Linked DNA regions of Homo sapiens: region 1 is linked to region 2. The links are contacts of gene promoters, found by promoter capture Hi-C in blood cells and fetal thymus (Javierre and others, 2016). All regions are on one chromosome and are shown on one strand. Each heading gives the region's core, a stretch centred on a gene start or on the middle of the fragment in contact. The rest is flanking DNA. Distances are from core to core; before and after follow the strand shown. Region 1 holds the start of ANKLE2 (ankyrin repeat and LEM domain containing 2). Region 2 holds the start of ZNF84 (zinc finger protein 84).

Region 1 (3,495 bases), core at 418-2,917, 280 kb after region 2:
CGTGATCTGCCCGCCTCGGCCTCCCAAAGTGCTGGGATTACAGGCGTGAGCCACCACGCCCGGCCAAGGGGGGTTAGGGTTTCAACATACGAACGCTGGGGACAGACACTCAGAATACAGCAGAGGTGTACGTTTAACTTTGAAAGAAACTGCCTCACTATTTTCCAAGGTGGTTAACTCAGTGTTTGCTCTTGCCAGCAAAATTTGATATTGCCAATTTTTAAATTTTAGCCATTCTGGTGGATTTCAAGCAGCATCTCATCGTGGTTTGAATTTCCATTTCATCCATCTTCAAAATTACTGACCCTTTCTTCTGTAGTGCCCAACCAACCATTAGTACCATCCAATGATATTTTTTAAGAGATGGGGTCTTGCTATGTTGGTCAGGCTGGCGTGCAGTGGCTATTCACAGGCGAGATCACGCTCATGGCAGCCTCGAACTCCCGGACTGAAACTACCATCACCCCTCACGCTCCAGAGTTGCTGAGACTACAGACCTGAGCCACCTCGCTCAGATCAATTATGTTTTTAACCAAGGATATCAATTATATTTTTCAGGTCTTTCATTTTCATTTAATAATATCTAAATTAGGCGGGGCGCGGTGGCTCACGCCTGTAATCCCAGCACTTTGGGAGGCCGAGGCTGGTGGATCACTTGACATCAAGAATTCGAGACCAGTCTGGCCAACATGAGGAAACCCCGTCTCTACTAAACATGCAAAAATTAGCCAGGCGTGGTGGTGGGCACCTGTAATCCCAGCTACTTGGGAGGCTGAGGCAGGAGAATCGCTTGAGCCCAGGAGGCGGAGGCTGCAGTGAGCCGAGATCGCGCCACTGCACTTCAGCCTGGGCGACAGAGCAAGACACCGCATCAAAAAATAAATAAAACATCTAAATTACATACAGTAAAATCCTCCTTCCCTTTTTCGAGACAGGGTCTCACTATTAGGTTGGTGCAAAAGTAATTGCGGCTTTTACCATGACTTTCAAAATATTTGCCCGGGCTGGTCTCGAGCTCCCGGGCCGTGGGGATCCTCCCGCCTCGCCTCCCAAGGCGCTGGGACTCCGGACGCAGCCGCCGCGCCCGGCAAAATCCGCGCTTTCAACTGCGCGTCAGGGCCCCTTGGTGAAGGAGCGGGAAGCTCCGCCGGTCTCCATAGCGCCGGCGGCCTGTTCTGCGGGTTCGCGGGGGAGTGAGAGGCGCTTCCTCACTCCTGCTCCAGGACGGGACGACGGCCGCAAACAGTACTCGGGCTCGGAGCACACGAACCCGGAGGCCGCTTCGTTCTCGGAGACGCACAGCGCCCCACGGACGCCAGGCCGGGGCCGGGAGGCGCGAAGAAGCGCCGCCCCGCGCCCGGCCCCGCCCTGGTGGCCTCCCCGGGCCCCAGCCCCGGCCCCCGCCAGCACATTGCGCTCCCCGCGCCTCGCCGGTCCCAGGACCCCGCGTCGGGCTGCCCGCGCCCCGCCTGCCGCGCCCGCCCGTCCGCTCGCCCGTTCCCGCCCGCTTGGGTCCCAGGGCCGGGGCCGCGCCCTCGCCGGGCCTCCGCGAGCGGGGCCGCCGTCCGTGTCCCCCGCGCCGCCCCGGCCGCCTCGAGCGCGGCGCCGTCAGGCAGGGCGCGGGCAGCCCGGCGCGGGGTCCTGGGACGGGCGCGGCGCGGGGCGCGGGCTTCTCGGCGGCTGCGGCCCGGGCGGCGGCGATGCTGTGGCCGCGGCTGGCGGCGGCCGAGTGGGCGGCGCTGGCCTGGGAGCTGCTGGGCGCCTCGGTGCTGCTGATCGCTGTGCGGTGGCTGGTGCGGCGGCTGGGCCCGCGGCCGGGAGGTCTGGGCCGCAGCGGGACCCCAGTTCCTCCGCCAAGCGCGGCCGCCGCCCCCGCCTCAGGTAAGGCCCAGGCGGTCGCTGGGTCCCCGCACCCTGGCCCCTTCCCCGCCCCGACGCCCTCCTCGGGCCTGGGGTCCCGGCCGCGCCCCTGGAGCCGGCAGCAGTTGGGCGAGGCGGCCGGGGAAACCAGGGCCGGTCGGGAAAGGCCATTCCGGCCGCGGAAAGGGCAGTTGCGGGGACTTGGCTTCCCGGGCCGGGGGCGGAGGGGCCACGCCGGGTTCGGGGGTGAGAGCTTTCCCGGGCCCTGGAGCAGCCTCCGGGGAAGGCGGCGGGGGCCCGGCGAGGCGTTAGCGGAGACTCTTGCTGCGGTCTCTCGAGACCTGGGGAGGGATGGCCCAAAGGAGGGCGGCGCGGGGAGGAAACCCCTGGGTCCCGGATGTGTTTGGAACGTGAAGCCATTGCGGTTACTGGTCATGGAACATAAGGCAGAGACGGAAAAGGCAAATGTAACTCAGGGGTTTGGGGCCAGAGGAAGAGGGAGAAGGTGGCCATTTATTGCTTTGCGGTAGACTGTCGGGTCTGGGTGATGTGGAGATCAGAGGTGGGTTTTGGTCGTTTTAAGTTTGAGGTAACTGATACAGTGAACTGTGTATTTCAGCTCCATCCCCTTTTCCTGGCATACAACTCTTGAAATCCCGGGAACCTCCAAAGTGATGTCTTTTGTAGGCTGAGTGGACTGGTGGCCGGCAGCCCCTAGGGAGCTTCTGGATGGGGCTGGTCGCAGGAAAGACCAAGGCAGGGTTAGAGGTTCTGGGGACTTTCAGCCCCACCCCCAACCTCTGGGGAGGAGAGAGGGGTGAAGGTTGCGTTGATCACCAGTGGCTGATGAATCACGCCTGTGAAATGAAGTTCCTGTAAAAACCCAAAAGGGCTGGGTTCAGGGAGCTTCCAGATAGTACGTGGGGGTTCCTGGAGGCGGTGCCCAGAGAGGCCCTGAATTTCCAAGCGCTTCCCCCCGGTTTTACGTCACGCATCTCTTCACCTGTATTCTTTGTAATCCTTTATACTCTGCTGGTAAGTGTAAGTAAAACATGTCTGTGAGTTCGGGAGCCACTCTAGCAAATTACCGCAACCTGAGGAGGTCACCGGGTTACGCCCCGTCGGTCCCAAGCGCAGGTCAAACAACCTGGGCACTGGAAGTGGGGGGCAGTCTTGCGGGGCTGAGCCGTTAACCTGTGGGGGTCTGCTGGTATCTCCAGGAAGACGCTGTCAGAATAGATGACTGAATTAGGATGACAGACGACACCCAGCCTGTGTCCACTGCAGAACTGACGACCTGCGTGATTTGTGGGGAGAAAATCCCCACATACCTGGTGTCCGAAGCATGTTGCAAGACTAGTGGGAGAAACTGAGTTTGTTTTTACTCTAAATTGTCAGACTGTTAGTCACTGCGGAGAGGTGCTTTCTGATGATTGAGTGGGGATTCCTGTCCAATTGTGTGAGTTTGTGTCTCGGCCCTACCACTTTTTTTTTTTTTTTTTTTTGAAATGTAGTCTCGCCCTGTGGCCCAGGCTGGAGTGCAGTGGCGCGATCTCGGCTCACTGCAAGCTCCGCCTCCCGGGTTCAAGCGATTCTCCTGCATCAGCCTCCCGAGTAGCTGGGATTACAGGCGCC
Region 2 (3,097 bases), core at 316-2,815:
ATGATGGCAAAATATAAAAAACATACACAAGCTAAATAAGAACTATTATCTATGATCTCACCACAGGTAACCATTCTTAGGATGATGGAAACTATTGTGATATTTTTCATACAATGGAAGCATATGGTCATATTTAAAAGCTGTTTTTGTTTTTTTCCCATTATGTGAAGAACATCTTTCCAGGTCAATAACCTTATTTCTGTAAGATATAAACAACTCACATAAAATAACAAAAAAATAAAATCCGACTCATAATTGACAAAATACATAAAATATGTAGGAATATCAAGACCCATATGAAGCATACTAAAAACACCAATGAGAACTATAAAAATAGAATTAAAGAAATTTATAATTCGATTTTATTCTGGGATAGGAAGACTTCAGATTGTGAAGATAATTTGACCTCAAATGATTTATATAACTCATCGACTCCAATCAGAATCTCAAAATTCTAAAGTTTATGTGTAAGAAAAAAGGTTCAAGAACAATTCGGACACTTTTTTTTTTTTTTTGACAGGGTCTTACTGTGTTGTCCAGGCTGAAGTGCAATGGCATAACCATAGCTCACTGCAGCCCTGAACTCCTGGGCTCAAGTGATCCTCCTACCTCAACCTACAGAGTAGCTGGGGCTACAGGCATGCCCTACCACACCGGGCCTGGATGCTTTTGGAAATACAAAATAATGAGTGTGAACAGGCCCACTGTAATACATACAAATTATAATCATTATAACATTTGACACTGGCTCCAGAGAAGTTATACAGATGAAAAAAAGCAAACTGTCTAAATATGCAAGAGTCAGCATGCAATAAATGTAGCATTTCAAAGCCATCAGTAAAATTAAATTATTTAATGAATACAAGAATATTTGAAAGAAAATAAACGTAGCTATTTCATACAACTACTTTCAGTGGGTTAAATTTTAAAATAATGGAAACCCTAAGAATGTCTACAAAAAAAAACCACAGGTGAATGAATATATGTATAATTTGAGGGGAGATTTCGCTACACCATACCAAAAGCAAAAGTCACTTAAAAAATTTAAAACAGTCAATAAATATAACCATTAAAAAATACACGGCCAGGAATGGTGGCTCACACCTGTAACCCCAGCGCTTTAAAAGCCTCCTTCGATAGCGGCAGAGCCAGGCTGCTGGTGGATGCGGTCCAGCAGGGCAGCCGCTCCTTAGGGCCACGGCGCGGCAAGCGGGCTGGCCCGAGGTCGAGGCTAAACGCGCCCGAGGCTAAACGCGCCCGAGGCTGGCGCCTCCACGCCCGCCTGAAAGGACGCCCAGGAGCGGCGCCTCCGGAAAGGCCGTGCCCGCCCCACAGCCCAGAATCCGCGCAGCTCCGCGGCCCACGGCATCTTCACGACCCGGCCCAGCCCCAACCCGCCCCAGACCCGCATCCGCGCGCGGACGCCCAGGGCCTTGAAGCCGAAGCTCCCCGCGGCCACTCCCGCGCGCCTCCCCCGCCATTCCCGGAGCCCCCAGCGCCGGGCCCGCAATAAACTCACTGAACTCACAAAAGACGCCGCCGCCGAGTCGCGCCCGCGCGCCCGCGGCCTCGCGATCACGTGACACCGCCCGTCCCCCGTGTCCCGCGCACGCGCCCAAACCGTCGGCCTTTGTGCGCTCCCGGGCGGCTCCGAACGGGCCGGGACGAGTCGGGGACTGCACACGCGCACACTCGCACGCGCGCACACGCGTACACTCCCCTCTCACGTGGCAGCGAAGGACAAAGAGGAAGAACGGGCCACCTGCAAGCATTACCAAGAGTGCATGTGCGCATGCGCGAAGGAAGGAGCCCCGCGAACTCAACTTCCCACAGTGCCCCGCGTCCGGAAGTGCCTGTCGCTTGGAGACGGAGTGACTCCAAACGGGCTCACACGGTTTTCTGAGAAACATAAAGGGAAACCGAATCCACCAATATATATATATATTTTCTTGAGACGGCGTCTCGCTCTGTCACCCAGGCTGGAGTGCAGTGGCGTGATCTCGGCTCACTGCAAACTCCGCCTCCCGGGTTGACGCCATTCTTCTGCCTCAGCCTCCCGAGTAGCTGGGACTACAGGCGCCCGCCGCCACGCCCGGCTAATTTTTTTGTATTTTAGTAGAGACGGGGAGTCACCGTGTTGCCCAGGCTGGTCGCGAACTCCTGAGCTCAGGCAATCCGCCCGCCTTGGCCTCCCAAAGTGCTAGGATTACAGGCGTGAGCCACCGCGCCCGGCCCACCAATACTCAATTGGTTTGACTTCAGTTGAGGAAACCAGAAAAAATTTAAATATATTTATGGAAAGAAGGTAAGAATTAACAGAAAAAAGTAAAGTTGATCCATAACTGGAGTCGTAGGGAGAATTATAGGTAAGTCACGATGCTTATGACAGCAAGATGGGGCCGGGGAGATGGAGGAGAGAGATGAAAAAAGAGAAATAACCATAGACACATAGGAAATTGAATGAAAATCCGCTCTATACTAATAAATTTGATAATTTGTGACACAAATGATTCTCCAGGACAACATGGGCCAAATTTGACCCAATTTTATCCACAATTTGAAGACAAATTCAGAGATCCTTTGCCAGAAAGCATCATAATGAGTTGCTTAGTGAATTGCTTCAAACATCCAGTGATTAGAGAATTCTTATATTTATTCCCAGAGGTAGAACTCACCAGTGAAGTACTAGCATAAAAACAGACGCATGGACCAATGTGGAACAGCGTAGAAAAACCAGAAATAACCCCATGCATATACAGTCAACTAATCTTAGGCAAGTCAACTAATCTTGTGTCAAGAATACACGATGGGGAAAGGACAGTCGCTTCAATAAATAGCGTGAGGAAACCGGATATCCAAATACTGCTACGCAAAAGACCTCATTGCCCGATGTGCACAGAAGCCAATACTATGGCACCAGGCGTTTGAGAAAAGAAAAGCTTAATTGCGAGTTGACCAACAAAGTGACAGGAGTTTAGTTCAAATCTATCTCTCTGTGCTGCCCTTAAGGCAGCACTATTGTGAAAAAAGGTTTAGAGGGTGGATTCTGGGATTCACAGGTGAATGGTGAAGGAAAAAGGAAGTCTGGAAAGTCCCC

The links. The method cuts DNA at HindIII sites, captures the fragments that hold promoters and counts their contacts. A CHiCAGO score of 5 or more calls a contact.
Region 1: a contact is called between the fragment with the promoter of ANKLE2 here and the fragment with the promoter of ZNF84 in region 2, in 9 of 17 cell types (total CD4 T cells, activated CD4 T cells, monocytes and 6 more). The highest score is 13.3, in total CD4 T cells.

What each region holds. Positions count from the first base shown.
Region 1 is chr12:132,760,004-132,763,498 of GRCh38, reverse strand. ANKLE2 (ankyrin repeat and LEM domain containing 2) reads left to right here and starts at 1,667. Exons shown (of 13, transcript NM_015114.3): 1 at 1,667-1,881. The coding sequence starts at 1,701. RefSeq lists enhancers at 999-1,098, 1,453-2,321 and silencers at 1,249-1,538, 1,629-2,218. The HindIII fragment of the contact is 14,066 bases long and covers 1-3,495 here.
Region 2 is chr12:133,035,977-133,039,073 of GRCh38, reverse strand. ZNF84 (zinc finger protein 84) reads right to left here and starts at 1,565. Exons shown (of 5, transcript NM_001289971.2): 1 at 1,529-1,565. It overlaps ZNF84-DT (ZNF84 divergent transcript), which reads left to right and starts at 1,852. Exons shown (of 3, transcript NR_110091.1): 1 at 1,852-2,305. RefSeq lists a silencer at 1,459-1,638 and an enhancer at 1,859-1,948. The HindIII fragment of the contact is 6,122 bases long and covers 1-2,941 here.